Linked DNA regions of Homo sapiens: all the other regions are linked to region 2. Evidence: promoter capture Hi-C in 16 types of primary human blood cells and fetal thymus (Javierre and others, 2016). All regions are on one chromosome and are shown on one strand. Each heading gives the region's core, a stretch centred on a gene start or on the middle of the fragment in contact. The rest is flanking DNA. Distances are from core to core; before and after follow the strand shown. Region 1 overlaps TMEM114 (transmembrane protein 114). Region 2 holds the start of NUBP1 (NUBP iron-sulfur cluster assembly factor 1, cytosolic). Region 3 holds the start of CPPED1 (calcineurin like phosphoesterase domain containing 1).

The links. Contacts are between HindIII fragments. The CHiCAGO score rates a contact against its expected background, and 5 or more counts as called.
Region 1: a fragment that was not itself captured here is called in contact with the fragment with the promoter of NUBP1 in region 2 in 1 of 17 cell types (total CD8 T cells); the score reaches 5.6 in total CD8 T cells.
Region 3: a contact is called between the fragment with the promoter of CPPED1 here and the fragment with the promoter of NUBP1 in region 2, in 1 of 17 cell types (activated CD4 T cells). The highest score is 5.8, in activated CD4 T cells.

The regions. Positions count from the first base shown.
Region 1 is chr16:8,565,691-8,569,534 of GRCh38, forward strand. It overlaps TMEM114 (transmembrane protein 114), which reads right to left. Exons shown (of 4, transcript NM_001146336.2): 4 at 3,810-3,844. Among named protein-coding and RNA genes, the nearest start is that of TMEM114, 23 kb to the right of the region's middle. The HindIII fragment of the contact is 2,900 bases long and covers 1,031-3,844 here.
Region 2 is chr16:10,742,246-10,746,030 of GRCh38, forward strand. NUBP1 (NUBP iron-sulfur cluster assembly factor 1, cytosolic) reads left to right here and starts at 1,597. Exons shown (of 11, transcript NM_002484.4): 1 at 1,597-1,637; 2 at 1,716-1,820. The coding sequence starts at 1,619. RefSeq lists an enhancer at 1,406-1,455. The HindIII fragment of the contact is 1,155 bases long and covers 1,014-2,168 here.
Region 3 is chr16:12,801,615-12,805,692 of GRCh38, forward strand. It overlaps CPPED1 (calcineurin like phosphoesterase domain containing 1), which reads right to left and starts at 2,273. Exons shown (of 4, transcript NM_018340.3): 1 at 2,093-2,273. The coding sequence starts at 2,162. RefSeq lists enhancers at 453-532, 1,855-2,224 and a silencer at 2,305-2,354. The HindIII fragment of the contact is 13,841 bases long and covers 1-4,078 here.

The sequences.
Region 1 (3,844 bases), core at 1,231-3,730, 2.2 Mb before region 2:
CAGGCCGGTCCGTTCACACAACAGACCTAAGGGTCTTAGAGCAGTGGTTCTTACCTCCCCTGCACAGCAGAATCACCTGGGGAACTTTGTGAACATAACAATGCCCAGGTCCGCCCTCGAGGGTCTGATTGCATTTGGCTCCATTGGGGCCCCAGTGCTAGCAACTGGTTGTTTTTTAAATAGGACCCCCACGTGATGCTAATGTAGAGCCAGGGTTGAGAACCACTGTCTTAAAGGCATATCACTCTCAAGAGAGAGTCCAAGTGGAATAAGAAAATAGAAGAGGAGAGGACAAGACAGAATGGAACAGAACAGATCAGAACAAAATGGATCAGAATAGAACAGAACCAATCCAATGGATTAAAATACGGCAGGACAGATCGAAACAGAATGGATCGGGCCAGGCACGGTGGCTCACGCCTGTAATCCCAGCACTTTGGGAGGCCAAGGTAGGTGGATCATGAGCTCAGGAGATCGAGACCATCCTGGCTAACACTGTAAAACCGCATTTCTACTAAAAATACAAAAAATTAGCCAGGCATGGTGCATGGTGGTGCGTGCCTGTAGTCCCAGCTACTGGGGAGGCTGAGGCAGGAGAATCACTTGCACCTGGGAGGCAGAGGTTGGAGTGAGCCGAGATTGAGCCATTGCACCCCAGCCTGGGTGACAGAGCTAGACGCAGTCTCAAAAAAAAAAAAATCAGAATAGAACAGAACAGGTCAGAATAGAATGATGGATCAGAATAGAAGAGAACAGATCAGAATGGATCAGAACACAACAGAATGGATCAGAATAGAACAGATCAGAATGGATCAGAACACAACAGAATGGATCAGAATAGAACAGATCAGAATGGATCAGGATAGAACAGAACAGAACAGAATGGAACAGCATCCCAACCCCACTTAATCATCAGCACCTCCTTACCACGGGCCATGGGCATCGCCCACTGCCTTCTCTCTCCCTGCCTCTACCTTCACCTCCTATTTCTCTCCATCAACCCTCCCTCTTCATTTCCCTCTAACACAGAAGCTTCTTCCCACCTCAGGGCCTTTGCGTCTGCTGTCACCTGCCTGGTCTGCAGTTTCCCTACCTACAGGTTCTTCATGCGGGTCTCAGCACAATGTCACCTCCTCCAAGAAGCCCTTTCTAATTGTCCTTCCTGGAGTCACATCTCTACCAGACACCTTTCATCCCATCACCCTGGTTTTTTTTTTTTTTTTTTTTTGAGATGGAGTCTCACTCTGTCACCCAGGCTGGAGCGCAATGGTGCGATCTCGGCTCACTGTAACCTCCACCTCCTGGGTTCAAGTGATTCTCCTGCCTTAGCCTCCCAAGTAGCTGGGATTACAGGCGCGTGTTACCACAGCTGGCTATTTTTTTTTTTTTTGTATTTTTAGTAGAGATGGGGTTTCACCATGTTGGCCAGGCTAGTTTCGAACTCCTGACCTCAGGTGACCTGCCTGTCTTGGCATCCCAAAGTGCTGGGATTACAGGCATGAGCCATGGCGCCCGGCCTCATCACCCTGTTTTGTTTTCTTCATAACACTAATCACTGTCTGAATCTCTCAGATAGATTATTGGTTCATGGGTTTATCATCTGTTCCCATGTGAGCTAGGAAGGGTGGAGATTTTCTTGGCCACCCCCATGAATGTGTCCCCAGGCCCTGGAACAGTCTCTGACACTGTAGGTATCTGGCAAGCATTTATCAAATGCATGAATGGATGGGCGAATGAATGAGCTTATTCTGTGTTGTCAGTTCCTGAGGTGCACACATGTTTTGGTTTGTTATTGTCCATTATTGCTCGCTTAGCAGAGTGTCTCAGCATGTCCCAAGGTGGACGTGTGGGACCAGATGTCCTGAGCATCATAGGATGCGAGGAGCATCCCTGGCCTCTTCCCACTGGAGCTGCCGGTAATACCACTCCCCACACGCACTAAGAACAACCAAAACTGTCTCCAAACACTGCCAAATGTCAGGTGGGGGAGAGAATCGCCCCAGCTGAGAACTCTGGCCCTGCAGTATTTAATCCAGCACTTGGGCGCTAGGAGGGCTGAAAACGTGTCTCTTGACGAATTTGGGGATCAAATCCTGCCTCTGGAGCAGTTCCACAATACGACCAGCAGGTGGAAGCAGAGACCGCCCTTTCGGTAGCATGGTTGCCCTCACTTTGCAAAAACTTTGTTTTCCCCAGCATTGTAACTGATTTTCCAACAGCGCTCATTTAGCCCCATGTGGCCATGTGAGTAACCCACTCCTTTTGCGCCTTTCCGGATTAGACAGGGACGTCGCAGCAACGTCCTGAAAGGAGCAGACAGCCAGTAAAGAAGTGCAGGCGTTGGTGGAAGTAGGGGGAGGACCATCTTGGGATCAGGCAGTTCTGAAGTTTACTCCCAGTTGCGTCCCTTTCTCTCCTTATGCCCTTAGTCCAGTTATGTTAACCTGCCAGTGCCTCAGTTTCCTCATCTGTACCCTGCTTTGCTTATCTCCTAGTCCTCACCACGGGCTACGTATTTCATATGCCTCTCTCTCCTCAATCATGTGGCACCCCAGAGAGCAAGGTCTGGGTCTGGAGGAGTCATTGCCCCCCCAGTTGCTGGTGTGTACTGGCCTTCCTTTGAGTGTTTGTTGAATGACTGACTGACCGACTGGCGTGGAGAATAGCACAGGTGCATAGATGTGGATGTCAGCTATAATGATGACAATGCTGATGTCATGGTGGTGTCATGTCGTTGTGGTGGTGATGTCATGGCATGGTGGTGATGATGTCATGATGTTTGTTGAATGACTGACTGACCGACTGGCATGGAGAATAGCACAGGTGCATAGAAAGTACTCAGTGGGTGTCAGCTATGATGATGACAGTGTTGACGTCATGGTGATGATGATGTCATGATGAAGACGATGATGCCATATTGTTGATAATCGTGTTGTCATCTTTTAATCCACACCAGTATTCCCCAAACCATCAGCACCTCCCAGAGTTTCCTAAGCCAAAGGCTCCTCGGGCCCTCCCCTACATCTCATGACTTGGAATCTTGCAGGAACAGAATCTCAGCCATGGTTTTGGGTTAGAATAGGCTGGAGAGCTCTTAAAAAACACTGATGCCTGGACACCAGCCCTAGAGAATATCAGATCAAGGATGTAGACAGCAGCAGGATTTTTGGAAGATACCCAGGTGATTCTAAGAGCAGCAAGATGACAACCCTTCTCTGTCACTTAATAAACGCCCCACCTCGGCATTTATGCAAACAGTGGCTCTGGGCCAGAAGCCTCGGCATCGCCTGGAAGCCACTTAGAAATGTGAGTTTTTGGGCTTCACCCAGGCCTCCTGGCTCAGACACCCTGGGGGTGGCATCAGCCCGAGAGTATCAACAAGCCCATAGAGTCTGGGGCGCGCTAAATGTGAACAGCACTGCCCCAGGGGACCCGGATGGGGAGCCCATTCCCAGGGGCAGAACACCAGGATGAAAGGAGGGATGGATTTTTCTGGGGGAGGACGGAAAAGGTATGATTAGTCTTGAAGAGTGCTCTATCAATTGGCCAACCCCTTGGGAGTCTCGCAGCTTCATATTGTAGACCTAACCTGACCCCGTAGAAAGCCCATGTCATGCCAGAGTTATTTTAGAGCAAAAGGAACTCCAGGCCAGAGCTCCCCAGAGAGAGCTGAACGCATTACAGGGCCCAGGAGGTAGGGCACCCTCTCCCTTTCCCAGACCCACCAAGGAGCTGATCCAAGGGACATGGGTGAGGAGGAAATGAAGTCGGAGGGGGCGTGAGGACTTTGCAATCTGTAAAGCTCTGTGTGTGATTAAAGGATCGTTTTTATTTCTCGCGAAGC
Region 2 (3,785 bases), core at 347-2,846:
AATTCACATGAAAGCACAAAGATGACAGCTGCCAAACGGTAAGTATTCTACAAAATGCTGGCTATAATTAGTGGTAGTGACAGGCAGCTGATACACTGCTGTTTAATAAATGTTTCCGAGGCCGGGTGCGGTGGCTCATGCCTGTAATCCCAACACTTTGGGAGGCCAAGGCGGGCAGATCACGAGGTCAGGAGATCGAGACCATTCTGGCTAACATGGTGAAACCCTGTCTCTACTAAAAATACAAAAAATTAGCCGGGCGTGGTGGCCTGTAGTCTCAGCTACTCGGGTGGCTGAGGCAGGAGAATGACGTGAACCCAGAAGGCGGAGCTTGCAGTGAGCCGAGATCCCACCACTGCACTCCAGCCTGGGTGACAGAGCGAGAATCCGCCTCAAAAATAAATAAATAAATAAACGTTTCCATATTCTTAGTGTCTGGGGCTAGGTAAAGTTTGTTCACTCATTAATATTCCAGGTGCCAAACCTGTGAGCAATGACACTCCAGTAGCAATGAGCATTTGTGGCATCCACATCTTGGTTTCTGAACTGTTGTCTGCTAAAAAGTAACCAAGGCTCCCTGAAGAAATGACTGCAGCAGGGAGAAGGGATGACTGAAACATCTTGTATCAGAAAGCAAGAAAATGCTCAAAGAAGCTGGATTAGTGCCCAAAGAACATAAGAACTGTCTTGAAGGGGCTTCACTGGCCACATCTGGGGGAAAAAAAATCGACCAGAAAGAATAATAATTGATTATAAAAGACAATTTTAAAAAATCCAGGAATCCATAGTGAGTCTTCGAAAAAAAAGAAAAAAAGAGAGGGTATAAAACTGATATATATTTATCATATATATAATCTATAGTTTTATATATATATATATAAATGCTGCTAAAATCACTGAGTGAAAGGCTGATAGAGAAGAAGATGGTCCCAGAGAGTACCTGTTAATTACAAATGGAAGAAGGAAACATTAAATGGAGAAATGGGGCAGACACCACCTTTAGCAAGCGATCAAGCTTCACATTACCAAAAACGGGACAAACTGACATTATCCAAGTGTGTTCTGCAGGAAAAAAGAAAAATTAACCTTTATCTAATTACAAGGCAAGAGGGAGGGGAGGATTAGACAAATCAAGAATATGGGATATTCTATTACACAACTGGTCTGGACCCGTCAAAATTATCAAGGTGATGAGACCCCCCCTAAAAAAAGAAGGACTGATCTGAATTAAAGGAGACCGAAGAGAAATAACTCCAGGCAGTGAGTGAATCCAGCAGGGGAGGGGGTCTAACAACTGAAATTGAAATATAAACTGTCTATTGGCTAATACTGCATTGGCTAGTACTGCATCGATATTAAATCTCTTGGGTATGAAAATGGCACTGATGTCATGAAGAATGGCTTTGTTCTTAGGAGATGCACTGCAGAAGTATTTATGATAGGAAATCTCTGAAAAGGAACAGACGTTGAGTCCCAGTCTTTCGGCCCAAGGTTCGCGCGTGCGCACAGCCCCCTTTCCGAGACTTATTTCGCGCGGTCGGAGAATCAGATTGTGCCCACAAGGCGGAAATGTACGACAGCGGGTTCCGGTGACCACGAAGGCGGCAAAGGCGACGGAATGGAGGAGGTGCCTCACGGTAAGCTCGCGGAGGGGGCGTGGGTCGCGGGGCGAAAGTGTCGGGAGCTGCTCTAACTGTGGTCTTGTCTCTGCGCAGACTGTCCAGGGGCCGACAGCGCCCAGGCGGGCAGAGGGGCTTCATGTCAGGGATGCCCCAACCAGCGGCTGTGCGCTTCTGGAGCGGGGGCCACTCCGGACACGGGTGAGAAAAGGGCAAGGCCTCAACAGGAACTTAGAGGCGCAGGCCCGGAAAAGGCGGGGCGTGGGAGGGAGGGGGCGGGATCTGCAGAATGACTGACAGCGGCAGGCTAGAAGGTATTGTATTCGGAGAGGGGTGGGGCCCAGAAGGGGCGGGGCGTGGAAAGTGGGCAGGGTGAGGGCGGAGCTTGGAATGACTGACAGGAACGAGGCCTTTAGAAGGCGAGCGCGAAGGACCTGGCGCGGATGGAGGGTGGAGACTGACCGGCGCGGAGTCGAAAGGGACATTAATTAAGAGGGTCGGGGCCAGAGGTTTGAGTGACAATAACAGACCGCAGAGAAAAACGGGATAAGCTTCGAAGTCGGGGAGTCTTCGGACTTACATCCTGGCTCTGCCAGCTACTTTCTTGACACAATTTTCTTCCTTTTGAGGAGTGATTCTCCCACTCATTCAGCAGAAATGTGTTGATCGCCTCGTAGGTTTGGTGCTGTCCTGGGGACACAGCTGGGGATCAGGCGTGGTCACTGCTCTAGTGGAGTTTAGCTTTACTGGGGAAACAAACACGTGAGCTAGCAACTAAACCACCGCAGCTTTAAGTGCTGTGAAGCACAGATTCCAGGATGAGAGGACCCAGGGAGCCTGCTCAGAAGGACCTTAAAAAGCAGGAGGCAGGAGGACAATATTTTTTTTTCTTTTTTTTCCCCCTTTTTTTTTAGACAGAGTCTTGCTGTGTAGCCCAGACCAGAGTGCAGTGGTGTGATCTCGGCTCACTGCAACTTTCACCTCTCAGGTTCAAGCGATTCTCGTGCCTCAGTCTCCCGAGTACCTGGGACTACAGGCGCCTGCCACCACGGCTGGCTAATTTTTATATTTTTAGTAGAACCAGAGTTTCACCATGTTGACCAGGTTGGTCTCGAACTCCTGACCTCAAGTGATGCATCTGCCTGGGCCTCCCAAAGTGCTGGGATTACAGGCATGAGCCACTGCACCTGGCCAAGGGGGAGAATCTTGAAGGAGTTCAGAGAGAGACTTGGATTTGATTCTTGGATCCATGCGGTGTGACCTTCAGCAATAGTCCTAACCTCTCTGAGCTTCTGGTTCCTCATCAAAAATGGAGACAGGCCGGGTGCAGTGGCTCACGCCTGTAATCCCAGCACTTTGGGAGGCCGAGGCGGGTGGATGGATCACTTGAGGTCAGGAGTTCGAGACCAGCCTGGCCAACATGGTGAAACCTGTCTCTACTAAAAATACAAAAATTAGCCAGCATGGTGGTGCATGCCCGCCCTCGAGGCTGAGGTGGGAGGATCACTTGAACCCGGGAGGTGGAGGTTGCAGTGAGCTGAGATCGTGCCACTGCACTCCAGCCTGGGTGACAGAGTGAGACCCTGTCTCAAAGAAAAAAAAAAATGAAGAGAAAAATAGTTATCTCTGTCAATGCAATGGAGAGACTGAACTGAGCCTCAGTGGAGGTTTATTGGGCCAGAGCTTGAGGGCGTGCCCTGGAAAATACAAGTGACAGAAACATCTGTGGCCTGTGCTCGATGGAGTGGTTCCAGAAGGCTGGTGTTTATATATTTCATTAAAAGGGGAAAAAGCATGCAGGAAAAAGTGCAGTAGGCCTCGTGGCAGGTAGTTACATTCTTGTGAGGTTTTAATTCGTGCCCAGTATATCTACACTATTCAGAAAATAAAGTAAACATTCAAAAGAGGGAATAAAGGAAGAATTAATTAGGCAGACGTCTCAGGGTAGGAGAGGAAGGACTATCTCATCCCATCTTTGTTTGGCATGTGGGAGGATAAGCTTGTAATGGACATGGTCAGTGTGGCGTTTAACAGACATCAGTAATAGGGAAGGAGTTAGACTGAGGTTACAGTCCTAAAGTTACAGTTGGCATGTCCTTGTTTATGGGAGGATACTCATCTTCAAAGATTTAGGGGCCAGCAAAGGAGTTCCTTAGGAGCAACTTG
Region 3 (4,078 bases), core at 1,023-3,522, 2.1 Mb after region 2:
GAGTAACTCTCCCATGTGTCCACAAAGAGATTTGTACAGAATGTTCATAACAGCACTGTTACCAAGGGCAAAAACCAGAAACAACTAAATGGCCATTGTATTAGTCAGGATCCTTGCAGGAAATAGTTGGCATTCTCAAATTAGGATGATTTTAAAAAGGGTTTAAAAAGGGATTACTTGGTGGGGGTTGGGTGGACGAAACCTACAAGGGAGTGTGGTAACCCAAGGTTAGAAAAGCAGAACCACTGCCACTCCCACGCCTCAAAGGAGGAAATGGTTACTCAAATCCAGAACTAGAGAGAATGAGGAGAAAAGCTGTCCTGAGAAAAGGAGCGACCTTGACCTTCAGGGGTGGGGAGGAAGACAGCCAGGCGAGGCAACCCCACAGAGTAAACTGCAAGAATAAATACAGCTGCCTTTTGCTTCTCTCCCTGCTCTGATTTCTTCTCAGGGCTCCCCACTGGCTGAGCCCAAAGGAAAACCAAAAGGCAAGGAGCCCACCGATGTAGCTCACGGAGGGCAAACCCCTGGGGCATGGTGGGGAAGGGAGAAAGGTTTGGAGAGGCAAAGGGAAGATATTCAGCATATACATCAACAGAATGTATAAGGTATATAATCATCCAATGGAATGTTGCCCAGCAAGAAAAGAGCAAAATCTTCATGTTGGACAAAAAAGACAAGGTCCATTAAAATACAGTCGTCCCAGGCCGGGCGCGGTGGCTCAGGTCTGTAATCCCAGCACTTTAGGAGGCTGAGGACGGCGGATCACCTGATGTTGTGAGTTCGAGACCAGCCTGGCCAACATGGAGAAACCCCATCTCTACTAAAAATACAAAATTAGCCGGGCGTGGTGGTGCGTGCCTATAGTTCCAGCTACTCCAGAGGCTGAGGCAGGAGAATCGCTTGAACCCGGGAGGCGGAGGTTACAGTGAGCCAAGATCGTGCCACTGCACTCCAGCCTGGGCAATAAAGCAAGACTCCGCCTTAAATGAATAAATAAGGTTTTACCATAGAATTACCGGAGAAACCTACTTTAGATAAGGTAGCAGGTAAAGTCTCTGAGGAAGTGAATGAACTTTAAAATGAGGTGTGACGGTTGAGAGAGCCAGGCTCACCAACCCTGCTAAAGAAGCAGAAAACAGCAAGCGCCAAGACCCTCAGGGAAAGAACGGCCTTGGCCCTTTTAAATGCAGTTCAAACAAGGGCAACAACAAAACCTGTTGCAGAACTGGGCAAGAGAGAGAATGACAACCCTGAAGGAAGTGGACACAAGCCTGATCATATAGGGCATTTAGGGTGACTTCCCTGGGGGTATAAAGCTGGTGAGAGCCTGGGAGGCGATCTGGCTGCAGGCAGCAAAAAGCCACAGAGGGGAATCAACAAACCAGAAACAAACCTCCCTCTTTACTTAGCACCTAGCATGCGTCCAACACCGGGTTACAAAAATACTTTTGATCTGTTTACGCTTCCAACAACCCTATGAGGCAGGTATTATCAAACCCATTTTTAAGGCAAAGCAGATAATCTAAATCCAAAATCCAAGCACTTCACTACGACTCTCGAATGCCCTCCCTCTCTACTGCTCTGATGGGGCAGTGTTACCATTTCGGTGAATGACTTAAATAAACGTCATTATGGAGTACAGAATACATAACGGTGAACAACCTTAATAAAACCGACACCCTCTAACATGCACCGAACGCTTATCCAGTAACACCCACAAGTATTCCCGTTTCACAGATGTGGAAGCTGAGGCCAAGATGCTAATGCACAGCTTGGAAACCAGGTCTCGCTGCAGAGTCCAAGCTGTCATTAACTATGCTTTGCTACCCTCCTCTTACTTCCCTTCTCTGGGGGAAGTTAGGTCAAGGCCAAGGAGGCTCCTAGACCAGATCGCTCTCTCGGCCTCGCCTCTCAACTGCGCCCCTGGAATCCCTAAGAGCAGGCTTTGATGCAGCTATGGCGGCTCCCAGGCCCCGGTGCAGCCCCGGATGGTGTCCGACTGGCGGAGCGCACACCTGAACAAAAGGTTCCCCCGGCGGAAGGTTCCGCAGCCCCAGAGTCCCCTCCCCGGGTGAGGGGCGGGCAGTACCTGCGGGAAACGCGGCCAGGGTCCTGCCCCTGGCTCTGTGGAAAACACCCCCCGCCTCTGCAGCCGACATGGCGAGCGAGTTTCTGGCCTTCACTTAGAACACTGCGTGGGTGGAAGCCGCGCGACTTCACACAGAACAACCGCTGGACCTGTCCCGCTTTGGGCGACGCCCTTTGATCTCGGGGCGGGACTGGGGCGGGACGGGGAGGGGCCCGGTGGCTCGGGGCGCCACTAGTGCTGCCTGGGCGGAGCGGAGGCGCCAGCGGCCCCTCTGGGATCGACCTGCGCGCCTGGCGAGTGGAGACTGTCTAGGGCACGCGTGGGCGGGGATAAGGCTTTGGGGTCAGTCCTTCCCTAAAGGCAGAGTTACTAGATTTAACAAGTAAAAATGCAGGACTCCCGGTTAAATTGGAATTTCAGATTTTTTTTTTTAAAGAATGACTGACTTGGTATAAATATGTCCTATGCAGTATTTGGGAGCTACTTACGTTAAATTTTTTTTTCATTATCTGAAATTCCAATTGAACTGGGCGTCCTAATTTTTTTAAATTTTTCTCTTTTTGCAGGTTTGAATGGAAGCGTCCTGATTTTTTTTTATCTGACAACTCTATCATAAAGTCAGAAGGAGCCACTGGGGTGGCTTACGCCTGTAACCCCAGCTCTTTGGGAGGCCAAGGAGGGAGGATCGCTTGAGTCCAGGTGTTGGAGACCAGCCTGGGCAACACGGCGAGAGACCTTGCCAATACAAAAAAAAAAAAAAAAAAGATGAAAAGGTGGACGTCTTGGAAGACTGTCTCAGCCTGAACTTCCCAGTGGCTGCCACCATCTTTCTGTTATTATCTTTGCTTGCTATGCACCAGGCAGGGCGCTAAGCACTTTGCACGCTGCTCACTTAATCCCCACTACAGCCCTAGGAGGTGGTGCTGTTATTAGCTGCATCCGTCATTTGGGGAAACTGACGCTCAGAGAGATGAACGAACTTGCACAAGGTGACACACATCTAGAGAGGTAGTAAAGCTGCGAGTAACCAAATTAGTGTCTCTTCAACTCAAGAGCCATTGTAGTGAACTACTTAGCCAGCATTTGTCAAACGTGTTGAAAATACAAATTCCAGAATGGACCTATTGAATCCAAATCTCTATGAAAATGATCTGTGTTTTGTTGTTGTTGTTGTTGTTTTGAGACAGGGTCTCACTCTGGTTGCCTAGGCTGGAGTGCAGTGGCACAATCTCTGCAGTCTCGATCTCCTGGGCTCAGGTGATTCTCCCACCTCAGCCTCCTAAGTGGCTGGCACTATTGGCGTGCGCCACCATGCCTGGCTAATACTTTGTATTTTTAGTAGAGACGAGTTTGACTATGTTGCCCAGGCTGATCTGGAACTCCTGAGCTCAAGCAATCCACCCACCCGGGCCTCCTAGAGTGCTAGGATTACAGGCATGAGCCACAGTGCCTGGCCTGAAAATGATCTGTTTTTAACAAGCACTGCAGGGGAGCTCTTATGATCTTACAAATTTGGGAAATTCTTTTCTAAACTAGCTGCCTACATCCAAAGCACTGTTTGAGTAGCTAATATGGCCATAACTACTGTTCTCTAATCCTTGACAAGAGTCACCCATGAATCATAGTGGTTAAGAGTATAAATGCCTATGAGTCCTGGAGTCAGTGGGCTTGGATTAATCCCGGTTCTACCCACTTACTGGTTGTATGCTCTTGAAAATTGCATAGTTTCTCTATGCCTCAGTTTCCCTATCTGTGAAATGGAAACAATAGTAGCATCTAGGTCATAGGGTTGCAGAAAGGCTTAAATGAGTTCATGTATCAAAGTGCTTAGAATAATAGTTCTAATAACAAATGGTAGGTACTCAATGAATATTAGCCATTGTTATTATTAATCAATCACTATAACCCTATTCCCTGAACATGGCCTGGCCCAGAGGAGGAGTCCCAAGAAATGTGAAGGAGGCCGGGCGCAATGGTTCAGGCCTG